Linked DNA regions of Homo sapiens: all the other regions are linked to region 1. Evidence: promoter capture Hi-C in human tissues and cell types (Jung and others, 2019). All regions are on one chromosome and are shown on one strand. Each heading gives the region's core, a stretch centred on a gene start or on the middle of the fragment in contact. The rest is flanking DNA. Distances are from core to core; before and after follow the strand shown.

The links. The method cuts DNA at HindIII sites, captures the fragments that hold promoters and counts their contacts. A contact is called where the count stands out against the background at its distance.
Region 2: a fragment that was not itself captured here is called in contact with the fragment with the promoter of LIPG in region 1 in 3 of the 25 tissues and cell types used here (dorsolateral prefrontal cortex, hippocampus and liver).
Region 3: a contact is called between a fragment that was not itself captured here and the fragment with the promoter of LIPG in region 1, in 6 of the 25 tissues and cell types used here (H1 embryonic stem cells, IMR-90 fibroblasts, adrenal gland and 3 more).
Region 4: a contact is called between a fragment that was not itself captured here and the fragment with the promoter of LIPG in region 1, in 1 of the 25 tissues and cell types used here (heart left ventricle).

The regions. Positions count from the first base shown.
Region 1 is chr18:49,560,249-49,563,657 of GRCh38, forward strand. It overlaps LIPG (lipase G, endothelial type), which reads left to right and starts at 1,809. Exons shown (of 10, transcript NM_006033.4): 1 at 1,809-2,157. The coding sequence starts at 2,061. RefSeq lists an enhancer at 2,016-2,516. The HindIII fragment of the contact is 10,319 bases long and covers 1-3,409 here.
Region 2 is chr18:49,806,417-49,809,825 of GRCh38, forward strand. All of the region lies in intron 1 of ACAA2 (acetyl-CoA acyltransferase 2), which reads right to left. Among named protein-coding and RNA genes, the nearest start is that of ACAA2, 5.4 kb to the right of the region's middle. The HindIII fragment of the contact is 8,087 bases long and covers 1-3,409 here.
Region 3 is chr18:49,741,122-49,744,530 of GRCh38, forward strand. No RefSeq gene overlaps it. Among named protein-coding and RNA genes, the nearest start is that of ACAA2, 71 kb to the right of the region's middle. The HindIII fragment of the contact is 9,868 bases long and covers 1-3,409 here.
Region 4 is chr18:49,704,712-49,708,120 of GRCh38, forward strand. The region is part of intron 3 of LOC105372112 (a long non-coding RNA gene); the gene reads left to right. Among named protein-coding and RNA genes, the nearest start is that of ACAA2, 110 kb to the right of the region's middle. The HindIII fragment of the contact is 6,279 bases long and covers 1-3,409 here.

The DNA.
Region 1 (3,409 bases), core at 559-3,058:
GCCTGGCTAATTTAAAAATTTTTTTTGGTAGAGATGAGTGTCTATGTTGCCAGGGTTAGGGAAGAGGACTTTTGACTACAGCTTACCCCCTGCCTCAGCCACTAGACCAGGTTGCCAAGAGCTCACATTTAAAGGTCAATTGGCCAAATTGAACCTAGAGCAGAGAAGAGAGACCTGGTTGTCTTGAGACTTTCTTCAAATCTGCAGCCTGTCCCCATGACTCAGTTTTCCCATCTGTAAAATGGAGATAACATTAGACCTATGTCTGTATAGTTTCCTCATGAAGAGAGAGACAGAGTGGGAACAACATATCCGGGGGTGATATTTACCATCGCACACAGACCATTGAGTTCTATACTAAAAAACTAAAGCCCGCCTGAGTCTTGTTAATGAATGATAGCACACGGGAGGGACAAAGCGTGCTCTGCTGGCAGCTGGAGTAACAAAAGTAATGAGGCGAGGTCGGAACAGGATCTGCTGGCTCCGGCTCGGTTTCCTCGCACAGGTCTCTCCAGCTGGATCCTCGACGCTAGGGAGGAAGGGGCGCGGGACTGCTGTGGGGGTTTTCCCTCCCCAGGCAGGGGCAGGACCTGTTCCGGGCGACTGCAGGGTTAAGGGTATCGTCTTAAAGAGCCGGATCCTCCCGGCTGGAGCGAGGCTGGATGGCGGGACGCAGCCTCTCAGCCTCTCGTACCCGCCCTGCGTCCGCAGTGGTTGTTGGCGCAGCCGCCCCGTCGGTGTTCCGGGCTCAGTCCCCGCTCCCCAGCGCCAGACGCAGACTCCGGGCCAAGTTCTCCCTCCGCTCGCTGCTTTCTGCCGCAGGACCCGGATCAATAAAGGGAAGGAGAGCCGGGAGGAAATGATGGAGAACAGAGAGAAAGGAGATGCTTGATTTCACTCGCCAAGGAGTGAGTGCTCATCGGCAGACACTGGGCTCTGGCCACGCGTCTTAGACTCCAAATCTCGGCTCACTGGTCCCTTTGAGGAGGTCGCCTGGTGTTCCCGTAGCCCTCCACCCCACCGTAGGAGAGCGCCTGCCACGAGCTCCGCGCCTCGCTAAGTGCTTTGCTACGTGAACTCTTAGTTTTCCCAACATCCCTAAGCCGCCGATACATTATCACCCACGTATTGCGGACGAGAGAACCGCCTCGGAGAAGCTGGCTGGCTCGCTTGGAGTTTTGCAGCTAGTGGCGGAGCGAGCATTCCGAGCAGGTACTGTGCGATCCTCCAGCGCCGGCCGCAGCTCACAGCCCCTTAGCTCCGCCGGGTTATTGTGCGGCCGCGCCTTCTGCACCTGTTGCGGCCCTCGCTAGGCGGGAAGGGAGGGAGAAGAGGAGGACAAAGGGGATGACCAGGTGGCTCTCCCCCGACGGACTCCCGGCCCAGGGAGCGGATAGACCACTCCCAGAGAGAGTGTGGCTTTGAGCCTTGGAGAGGATGCTCTCCTTCTCCAGGGATCGCCTCCCCAGCGGACGCAGAGTTTCAGGGAAATGTCCGCCTCCGCCACTTGGGATGGCAGTGGGGAGAGGAGGATCTGGGTGTCCGGAGGAGGGCAGTGGGAGAAAGCTGGAGCTGCTGGAGTCGCAGCTGCCTGCGGAGCGGGCCCGGGAGGAAGCGGGGCCGAGCGTGCGGCGTCCACGCGGTGAGTGTGCAGCGCTTTCATTCAAACTTTCTCCAGTCTCGGTTCCGGCGTCAGCAAGGTGTGACCAATCAGAGCCCAGAGACGGGAATAAATTATGCAAATCACCATCTGGCGATGGGTCAGATGACTCCCATACTTTTAAAAACTACCTCTATAGGAGCGTGACAGCAGCGAGTCCTTGCCTCCCGGCGGCTCAGGACGAGGGCAGATCTCGTTCTGGGGCAAGCCGTTGACACTCGCTCCCTGCCACCGCCCGGGCTCCGTGCCGCCAAGTTTTCATTTTCCACCTTCTCTGCCTCCAGTCCCCCAGCCCCTGGCCGAGAGAAGGGTCTTACCGGCCGGGATTGCTGGAAACACCAAGAGGTGGTTTTTGTTTTTTAAAACTTCTGTTTCTTGGGAGGGGGTGTGGCGGGGCAGGATGAGCAACTCCGTTCCTCTGCTCTGTTTCTGGAGCCTCTGCTATTGCTTTGCTGCGGGGAGCCCCGTACCTTTTGGTCCAGAGGGACGGCTGGAAGGTAACGTGAATTTGTTTTTATTCCCCCCAGCCACTTCTCTGTGCTGGGTCCCCTCTGTCTTGCTGATTCTTCAAACCCTCCTTGTTCCTATGAAATTCTTCCTTTCCCACTGCGCTGCCCATTCTCTCCTCCAATCCACCTTGGAGTCCACCTGTCTCTCTGCTGGTCTGATGGGGGCATTCCCGGCAAGTCATGCAAAAGGCAAAGGCTGGCAGGGTGCGCTGGCTCTTGCCAGCCCTCCCACCCCCACCTCCTTCCCTTATACGGCTCCCTAAGCCAGTGCTGGTGCTGTCCAGCCAGCCGAGCGGCCTGGCAGCAGCTCTGAAACCTTGTCCTCATGCCTGAACCTGGAGGTTTGAGAGGCAAGAAGGCTGTCAGAGCTGTGTCTCCTGGAGCTGCCTTTTAATCTTGGTGTAGGTGTCTTGAAAGTTCAGGTGGCAGGGTAGCTGGCTTTGGTTTGATTCGTGCTTGCAGGGAGCGTCTGGTGGGTCGCTTGTGCTTAGAAGCTGCCGGGCCTATTCCCCCAGGTTGCCAGCCTTTTCCTCTTCAACACTCTTGTGCTCCCCCGACTCTTCCTCTTCCCACTCCTCCTCCCTTTCCTCCTCCTGGCTTTTAGCTTCTCTTCCTCTTGGGTTCTGTATGGCAGCCTTTGCCAGTGGAGGCAGCTTGCCCTGGGGGAGCCAGAGTCAGTCAGCTCTGGGGGAGTCAGAATCAGAGTGAGAACTAAGTCAGCTGATAAGCAGTGGAGGGCTGGGGAGCCTCTAAACTGAACCCCATCATCTCATCTTCTAGTCTGCTGAGGTTGTGCCAAATGGTCTGTGTGGGCTTGTGTATGTGTGGGAGGGTTACTGTGAATGAATGGAAAGCCTTGCTTTACTCAACATGTTTCCAACTCTGGTGCTAACTAGAAGCATTGCCTAGGGCAGGTCTCATCTCTGGCTCCTCACCTGTAAAATGCTAAAGTTCCTTCTAACTTCTGTGTTCTGGGCCTCTGAGTATGTGTGAGTCATTTCCTTCATTGCAAAAAGTATTTACTGCATACCTACTTAGTGTCAGACACTATTCTGGGAGCAGGGGAGAGAGCAGTGGACAAAATAGATGGCAATCTGTGCCCTTGTGACACTTACATTTCAGTGGTGGGAAGACAGACAGTGCACTGATTAAAGTATCAGTGGTGCTCAGTATTATGGAGAAAAATCAAGCAGAGGAGGAAGGTGGGGCATGTTGGTGGGGGAAGGTGGTGCGATTTTAT
Region 2 (3,409 bases), core at 540-3,039, 250 kb after region 1:
ATTTAAGCTGCTGCCCACTACAAGGGGAGACATAGTTTATCACGGGGGTGCATGGGGGTGATTTTGTAGGCAAAGTAACTGTCTACAAAAAATAAATAGCCAACCAATCAATAAGTCAGTTCTGTCTGCAGGATTATAACAGAATCCAGTCTCCACAATGTTCCATCTGCAATATTCATAATATAATTCAAAGTTAATCCACATATGAGGAAACAAAAAATATGACAATCAACAGAGACCAATCCCAAGAAGACCCAGACACTGAAATTAGCAGACAAGGATTTTAAAATAGCATTCTATTACAACTATGCTCAAGGATGTAGAGGAAAATATGCTCCTAATAAAACATAGGACATCTCAGTAAAGAAATACATACTATAAAAATCCAAAATGGAAATTCCAAAACTGGAAAATACCTGAAATAAAAAATTCCCTGGATGGGCTTAACAGCAAAATAGAAATGAAAGGAGAAAAATTCAGCGACTTTGAAGATAGATAAATAGAAATTAACCAATCTGAAGAACAGATGAAAAAAAAAAGATTAAAAAACAAAGCCAGAACCTCAAGGTCTGACAAAGGAGGAAAGGCAATTCACTGGAAAAAGGATCGTCTTTCCAACAAACAGTGCTGGAACAACAAAACATCTATATACCAAACAAAATGAATCCAGGCAAAAATGCGTCAACTTTGATAGTGGGCTGGGCACTGTGGCTCAAGCCTATAATCTCAGCTACTCAAGAGGCTGAGGTGGGAGGACTGTGTCAGGATAGGAGTTTGAAACCAGCCTAGGCAACATAGCGAGATCCCCATCTCTAAAAAATGTAAAAAATTAGTTGGGCATAGTGGCATGTGCCTGTAGTCCCAGCTATTCAGGAGGCTGAGTTCAAGGCTACCGTGGGCTACAATCAAGTCACTGCACTCCAGCCTGGGTGACAGAGTGAGATCTCTTATCTAAAAAAACAGAAACAAAAACAAAGAGATCATAGACTTAAATATAAAATGCAAAACTCTTAGAACATACGAGAAAAATCTACATGGCTTTGGGTTTGGTGATAATTTTTTAGATCTAACACCAAAAGCAGGATCCATGAAGGGAAAACTTAGGTTGGACTTCATTAAAATAGAAAACTTCTGGCTGTGTGCAGTGGCTCATGCCTATAATCCCAGCATTTTGGAAGGCCAAGGTGGGAGGACTGCTTGAGCCCAGGAGTTTGAGACCAGCCTGGGAGACATGATGGGACCCTGTCTCTATAAAAAATTAAGAAATCAGCCAAGCATGGTGGTGTGTGCTTGTGGTCCTAGCCACTTGGGAGGCTGAGGCAAGGGGACTGCTAGAGCCCAGGAGGTCAAGGCTACAGTGGCCGTGTTCACACCACTGTACTCCAGCCTGGGTGACAGAGCGGGACCCTCTAAAAACAAATGAATAAATAACCTCTGCTCTGCAAAAGATGCTGTTAAGAGAATGAAAAGACAAGCGACAGACTAGGAGAAAATATTTATAAAAACACCTAACTGATAAGGGACTGGTATCCAAAACATACAAAGTGTTCTTACAGCTCAGCAATTAAAAAAAAAAAAAAAAACCCATGCAACCCAATTTAAAAATGGGCAAAAGATCTGAACAGATACCTTACTAAAGAAGATATACAGATGGCAAATAAGCATATGAAAAGATGCTCAACATTGTATGTCATTAGGGAATTGCAAATTAAAACAATGAGATACTACTACACAACTATTAGTCTTTTGGATTTTAGAAAGGCTAAAATCCCAAACACTGACAACACCAAACACTGGTGAGGATGTGGAACAACAGAAATTCATTCACTGCTGGTGGGAATGCAAATGGTATGGCCAGCTTGGAAGACACTTTGGCAGTTTCTTATAAAACTAAACACACCTAACCATATGTATGATACAGCAATCAGGTTCCTTGTATTTACCTAAATGATTTGAAAACTTATGTTCAAACAAAAACCTGCAAACAAATGTTTATTCCTAATTGTTAAAACTTGAAGGCAACCACGATGTCCTATCATGGGAACCCGCCCCCCAATATTTCAGTGTAGGTTCTATTTTCCTTAAGTGTCGGCCGGTCTGAGAAACAGAAAGAGTACAAAGAGAGGAATTTTACAGCTGGGCCGCCGGGGGTGACATCACATATCGGTAGGTCCAGGATGCCCACCTGAACCACAAAACCAGCAGGTTTTTATTAAGGATTTCAAAAGGGGAGCAGGTGTACGAACAGGGAGTAGGTCACAAAGATCATATGCTTCAAAGGGCAAAAAGGAGAACAAAGATCACATGCTTCTGAGGCCAATAAAGATCACAAGGCAAAGGACAAAGCAAAGATCACAAGGCAAAGGGCAAAATCAAAAACTCCTGATAAGGGCCTATGTTCAGCTGTGCACATATTGTCTTGATAAACATCTTAAACAACAGAAAACAGTGTTCAATAGCAGAGAACTGGTCTGACCTCAAATTTACCAAGAAGCGTTTTTTCCCCACCCTAATAAGCCTGAGGGTACTGCAGGAGACCAGGGGGTATTTCAGTCCTTATCTCAACCGCATAAGACAGACACTCCCAGAGCGGCCATTTATAGACCTCCCCCCAGGAATACAATTCTTTTCCTAGGGTCTTAACATTCCTTGCTAGGAAAAGAATTTAGTGATATCTCTCCTACTTGCATATCCGTTTATAGGCTCTCTGCAAGAAGAAAAATATGGCTCCTACTGCCCGACCCCGCAGGCAGTAAAGACCTTATGGTTATCTTCCCTTGTTCCCTAAAAATCGCTGTTATTCTGTTCAAGGTGCACTGATTTCATATTGCTCAAACACACGTTTTACAATCAATTTGTACAGTTAACACAATCATCACAGTGGACCTGAGGTGACGTACATCCTCAGCTTACGAAGATAACGGGATTAAGAGATTAAAGTAAGACAGGCGTTAAGAGTATTATTAGGGAAGTGATAAATGTCCATGAAATCTTCACAATTTATGTTCCTCTGCCACAGCTCTAGCCGGTCCCTCCATTCAGGGTCCCTGACTTCCCACAACAATGTCCTTCAACAGGTGAATGGATAAACAAACTGTGGTGCAGCCATACAATGGAATATTATTCAGCAATAAAAAGAAGTGAGCTATCAAGCCATAAAAGGAAGGAATCTTAAATGCATGTCGCTAAGTGAAAGAAGCCAGTCTGGAAAGGCCATATACTGTATGATTCCAACTACATGATATCTGGAAAAGGCAAAGCTATGGAGACAGTAAAAAGATCAGTGCTTGCCAGGGGTTCAGAGACAGGGATAAATAAGTGAATCACAGATGATGTTTAGGGTGGTGAAATTAATCTGCATGACACTATAATACTGACATCGGTCATTTGCACATTTGTCAAAACCCAT
Region 3 (3,409 bases), core at 272-2,771, 180 kb after region 1:
AATTGTGTGTCATTGGGGTTTTGTATACAGATTATTTCATCACCTAGGTAATAAGCATGGTACCCGATAGGTAGTTTCTCATTCCTTACCCTCCTGCCACGCTTCACCCTCAAGTAGGCCCTGGTGTCTGTCATTCCTTTCTTTGTGTCATATGTACTCAGCGTTTAGCTTCTACTTATAAGTGAGAAATGTGGCATTTGGTTTTCTGTTCCTGTGTAAATTTGCTTAGGGTGATGGCGTCCAGCTCCATCCATGTTGCTGCAAAGGGCATGATTTCATTCTTTTTTATAGCTGCATAGTATTCCATGGTGTAAGTGTATCACATTTTCTTCATCCAGTCTACCACTGGGCATTTAGGTTGATTCCATATCTTTGCTATTGTGAGTGCTGTTGTGATGAACATTCACATGCATATGTCTTTATGGTAGAATGATTTATATTCATTTGGGTGTATATCCAATAATGGGGTTGCTGAGTTGAATGGTAATTCTGTTTTAAGTTCTTTGAGGAATTGCCACACTACTTTCCACAATGGCTGAACTAATTTACATTCCCACTAGGAGTGTATAAGCGTTCCCTTTTCTCCACAACTTCACCAGCATCTGTTATTTTTTTGCATTGTGGGTTTTTTAAAATGTGAGTTTTCGGCCAGGCACAATGGCTTACGCCTGTAATCCCAGCACTTTGGGAGGCCAAGGTGGGCAGATCACCTGAGGTCAGGAGTTCGAGATCAGCCTGGCCGACATGGCAAAACCCCATCTCTACTAAAAACACAAAAAGAATTAGCTGGGTGTCGTGGCACATGCCTGTAATCCCAGCTACTAGGGAGGCTGAGGCAGGAGAATCACTTGAACCCAGGAAGCGGAGGTTGCGGTGAGCTGAGATCACACCACTGCACTCCAGCCTGGGCGACAGAGTGCTATGTCTAAAAAAAAAAAAAAAAAAAAGTGAGTTTCCGTAGAGATGAGATTGATACACGCTGGGAAAGATAAGAGATTAACATTTAGATACACGTCTATCCTGCCCTCTTCTTCTTTCTGGTTTCGATGCTTAAATTATTTCAACTTTTCAGAGTTTGCAACATTTCATTCTGCATCTGAAACCATCTCTCTCCTGGGTGTTAATAGCATTCCTGCATCCACCTGGATTCCATGCTCCCTACCAATCCCACTTCTACAGCTTCAGAATGGCAGGACTCTCTTTTGATGCAACCTTTAGTTAACAAGATCTCACCATCAAGTAGATTTTTCACAAGGGCTAACAGATGTTGTATTTTCTGAGTCCCTTCATGTCTGAAAATGTGAGCTCTTGCCTTTATACCTAAGCTCCAGCTTGGCTGGGTAGAATCCACTTGGGTCATATTCTGTTTTTCTTCTGGACATTTCTCCTTTGCTCTGGCACTGATTGCTGCTGGAAAGACATCTGAAACCCACCTGATTTTTCTCCTTGTAAGTGAATTATTTTTGTCCTGAATGTGAAAAAAAAATTTTAGTTTAATGGTTTAACCAGAATGTGTCTGAAGGTTTACTGTTAGAGATTTTTCCTAATAAGTGGTATGTGCTTTCAGTCTTGCAGTTTCAGTCTTTATTCTAATTCCTATGAGTTCACTGTTGTTAAAGTAAATTAAAATGACGAGAGACCAGCCTGAAGAATCTCTGACTAGACAAAAGCAGTCAGGCCTCATAAGTCATCTTAACTTTGCTTAATTTGCAAACTTTAGCAAAACTTAACTTTAGCCATTTCTGGTAAATGCTTATGTTAGAAAGAAAACCTCAGCCAATTATTGGCAGACAAAAAGTTTCTAATTATATAACTAGGGACTTTCGAATGGGATGAATCAAATAAGATAATTTTGCAACTGTCACCAATCAAATAATTTCTTTATCTTTTTTCCGTATTCAACCTAAAAATATTTGCCTCTGACGCTATGTCATTAGAACATTGAACATTTTTTTGGTCTGGCATACCCCAATTCATGAATTGCTTTTTCCTCAAATAAACTCTTTAAAATGTAATTGTGTCTCCAATTTTTCTTTTACACTATTCAAACACAGATCTCTCATCCTTTTGGAATGTATTCTGGTGTAGGGTCTAAGGGATGGGTCCAGTGTCTTTTTCCTGATGATATCCAGATGTTTTCTGGGCAGTTTGAGTTTGAGGTGCTGATGAAGCATGCAGGTGAGGCTGCGTTCAGGGCCACTGCGAATTCAGGGCTGGAGATGGGTCAGGGACCAACAGACAGATCTGAGGGCCATAGTAGGGACATCTAAACAAGGAGACAGACGGGATTGCGAAAGAAGGACAAGTCAGGACCAACATGCGTGGGGCCAAGTCCAAAACCTTGGGAGGCCTGTACATTTAGGAATACAAAAGAGGGAAAGAGATTGAAGAGGATGAAGGCTAAGAAAAGACCACTGGGTTGGGTCTTCAGAGATTGGCCTCCAAGGGAGATAAGCATCAGAGCCTGGCAGTGAAGGGCAAGGGAAGGAGCAGATGATGACACCAGTGAGGCAGCTCTTCCCGGAGTGGGATGACAGGAGAGGGGAAGGTGCAGCTGTGCAGACTTCACAGGAGAAAGGGGTGTTTCTATTAGGCAGAGTGAGGCTTTAGCAATTTAGTGGACCTGTGAAAGGGGTCAGGGTGGGGAGAGGTGGAAGATAAAGAGAAGGAAAACCACAACAATGATGGAAAGGTGGGCAGGTAGGAGATAGGGTCACAAGGCAGGATGCAAGTAACAGAGCTTCTATCTGAACCGTCTTAGGAAAAAGAGATCATTCACTGACTGGGCACGGTGGCTCACACCTCCGAGCACTTTGGGAGGCCAAAGCAGAATTGCTTGAGCCCAGGAGTTCAAGACCAGCCTGGGCAATATGGTGATACCCCTGTCTTTATAAAAAAAATTTTTTTTTAATTAGCCAGGTGTGGTGGTAGGCACCTGTGGTCCTAGCCACTTGGGATGCTGAGGTGGGAGACTCACTTAAGCCCAGGAGTTCGAGGCTGCAGTGAGCCATGTTCATGCCATTGTACTCTAGCCTCGGTAACAGAGCGATACCCTGTCTCAAATTATAGTAGTAATAATAATAATTTTAAAAAGAGATCATGGTAAAACCCTGTCTCTACTAAAGATACAAAAAATTAGCCAGGCGTGGTGGCACGTGCCTCTAATCCCAGCTACTTGGGAGGCTGAGGCAGGAGAATCGCTGGAACCCAGGAGGCGGAGGTTGCAGTGAGCCGAGATCACACCATTGCACTCCAGCCTGGGCGACAGGGTGAGACTCTGTCTCAAAAAAAAAAAAAAAAAAGATTATTTATTGCCTCATGTAACCAAACCAAGAGATGGGAAAGGAGAAAAAGGATGCAGAACTAAGGACTCAAATGTTGCCAAGTTCTGATTTCCATCGCTCATATC
Region 4 (3,409 bases), core at 359-2,858, 140 kb after region 1:
TGGTCAGCCCAGAGGGAAAGCCAGAAATCAATCTAGTATGAGAAATAGAGTTTAATCTGATTGGCCACAGTGCTCAATATGACAACAATTATGTAAAAGTTGAATACAAAACAGAAATATGTGAATTCCGCACAGATATATCCACTATTGGAAATGCATATGAGCTATCTATGGGGTATGCCTCAAACTGAAGATAATGGTTACGTTGAGGGCATGGCGTAATCAAGAAGGACTTTTGCTTTATCTATATTGTTTGAATATTTTATAATTAACTTTCCAAGATATCTGTGAATTTTTCTTTTATGTACTTTTTCAATTTTTTTTTTGCTTCTGAATGACAAATACGCCATATTTTTCAGTTTTCTTGTATTTTTTTAAAAAATCTTTGTAATTTTTTATTTTTGGTGGAGATGGAGTTTCACCATGTTGGCCAGGCTGGTCTCAAACTCCTGGCCTTAAGTGATCCACCTGCCTCAGCCCTGCAAAGTGCTGGGATTACAGGCATGAGCCACCACATCTGGCCAATTATAGTAAAACATATATAACATAAAAATTTACCATCTGAACCATTTCTTTTCTTTTTTTTTTTTTTTTCTGAAACGGAGTCTGACTCTGCCACCCAGGCTGGAGTGCAGTGGCACGATATTGGCTCGCTGCAACCTCCATCTCCCAGGTTCAAGTGATTCTCCTGCCTCAGCCTCCCAAGTAGCTGGGATTATAGGTGCCCGCCACCACGCCTGGCTAATTTTTGTATTTTTAGTAGAGAGGGGGTTTCACCATGTTGGCTAGGCTGGTCTCGAACTCCTGACCTCAGATGATCTGCCCACCTCAGCCTCCCAAAGTGGGATCACAGGCATGAACCACCGCGCCCAGCCCATCTGAACCATTTCTAAGTGAACAGTTCAGTGGCATTAAGTACATTCACAATGTTGTGCTATTATCACCACTACCCATCTCTAGAGCATTTTCATCTTCCCAAACTGAAGTTCTGTATCCATTAAACACTAACTCCTCATTCCCCTTTCTCCCACCAGCCCCCTGGCAACCACCGTTCTGTTTTCTGCCTCTAGGAATGTGACTGCTCTAGGTATCTCATGTAAGTGGAATCATAGTATTTGTCCTTTTGTGTCTCGCTTACTTCACTTAATAAAGTGTTTTCAAGGTTCATCCATGTCGTAGCATGTGCCAGAATTTCCTTCTTTTTGAAGGCTGAATAATATTCCACTGTGTGGATATTCCACACTTTGTTTATACCCACCTCTATTGATGGGCATTTGGGTTGTTTCCACCTTTGGCTATTGTGAATAATGCTGCTATGAACCACGGTGTGCAAATAGCTGTTTGAGTCCCGTTTCCGATTTTTTGGAGGAACATACCCAGAAGTGGGATTGCTGATCATATGGTAATCTATGTTAAATTTTTTTGAGGAGCCAGAATACTAGCTCCCACAGTAGCTGCTCCATTTTGCATACCCACCAGCAATACACTAGGGCCCCAATTTTCCCACATCTTCGTCAACACTTGTTATTTTCTGTTTCTTTGGTTACAGCCATCCTAATGGATGTGAGGTGGTACCTTATTGTGGCTTCGATTTGCATTTCCCTAGCAATTAATGATGGTGAGCATATTTCATGTGGATCCGTAAATTTTTAGTAATATTTAAAAGATTTCAGCAGGCCAGGCACGGTGGCTCACGCCTGTAATTCCAGCACTTTGGGAGGCCGAGGCAGGTGGATCACGAGGTCAGGAGATCGATACCATCCTGGCTAACACGATGAAACCCCATCTCTACTAAAAATACAAAAAATAATTTAGCCAGGTGTGGTGGTGTGCACTTGTAGTCCCAGCTACTTGGGAGGCTGAGGCAGGAGAATTGCTTGAACCCGGGAGGTAAAGGTTGCAGTGAGCCGAGATCGTGCCGCTGCACTCCAGTCTGGGTGACAGAGCGAGGCTTCATTTCAAAAAAAAAAAAAAAAAAGATTTCAGCAATAGAGAAAAATGTAATGGAATATCTGGAAAACCTTTATACATCCATCTTACCTCTTGAAATGTTTCTGGTTTTCAACAAACATGATGTTTTGTGCCTTCCACTGTGTGGAGTGGCTCTAGATGGTGGTGTCATCAATAGCCACCCGCTCATCTCAGACTGCTTGACCTTGAAGCAGTTTCTGGAAATGCCCCTGAACAGCTGTTGATGAATCCACATGGTTTAAAGAGACTTGCTAAAGGTGGGTGGGTGGTCTGGCTGTCTTTACTTTATTGGGTTCCTTGTTTACAGAGTGAGCCCATAGTTTTTTCTCAATGCCCACTCGTCCCCATCTCTAGTCAGCTCTAGTAGCTGCTTTCTGATCCAGAGAGGAGACATTTGTAAGATGCAGCCCAATTCAGAGTGAACATTGAGACTTCTCAGCTAAAATTTGCAATCTCTCAGACTAAAAAGCTCAAGCCATTTTGGTGCTATGACTCATTCTTGAAATAACACATTTTTACATATTTTGATCAAACTGGAATTCAAGCTGAATATTGCTCACCTGTAACACCCTTTCCTATTTTACTGTTTTCAAAGCCTAGCTCAGCCTCCTGGGGTAAAGTGGTGTTTATTAAAGATAAACATTTAAGTTCCCCTTTGGGTTCCCAGAAGGCACAGATCATTATGGTGGGGGGTTCCTGGCTGGGGAAAGTGCCCTCAGAGAGCAACTTACTCACAATCTTACTATGGTTGTAATTCAATTAAAGAAGCTTCCAGGGCCCACCTTTGTGGGCTTTTACCCTGCTATTTCTTCTGTCATCTTTTTTTTTTCTGGCAACTCCCAACATTTATTTGGTGTAATAATGAAAATGATACAAAAAAAAAATCAGGGATTGTTTGACACTTTTTTCCTAAATGGAAACCTTCACCGAAAGAGGATAAAAGATTTACAGGTAAGTTCTTTCTCCAAAATTAGTAAATGACCTCAGTTTTAATTCTTACTGAGGTTACTAAGTAGCTATCAGTATATTATTTTCAACTTGTGTCTAGGAGGGAAATTTTTATGTAGCGGGAGGTAAGGCATTAGCAGAGAAATCAAGTTGTCAGTTGGGAGCCAGCCAGCTTCTGCCCTGCAGTTACTGCTAGAGCTTCACTGAGCTGCATATACACAGGCCTGTTTCACAGTGGGATTGAGGAGAGGCTGAATGAATGGCCCTTTGCTAAGCTGGTGGGCACTGCAAGCTCTAGCGTTTACTACCCACCAGAAAGGCAAAAGGTGAGGTCTTTATGGGAAAATCTGATGCCCCCAGCTCCTATGATGTCTGTAGCCCAGAATCAAGTCACCCAGCACTTGGTATAATGTTGAGGTAAGTGGCCTAGTGAACTGCCATCTTTTCTGTCTGGCAAGTGGTCACCCAGGCTGGAGTGCAGTGGCGCGAG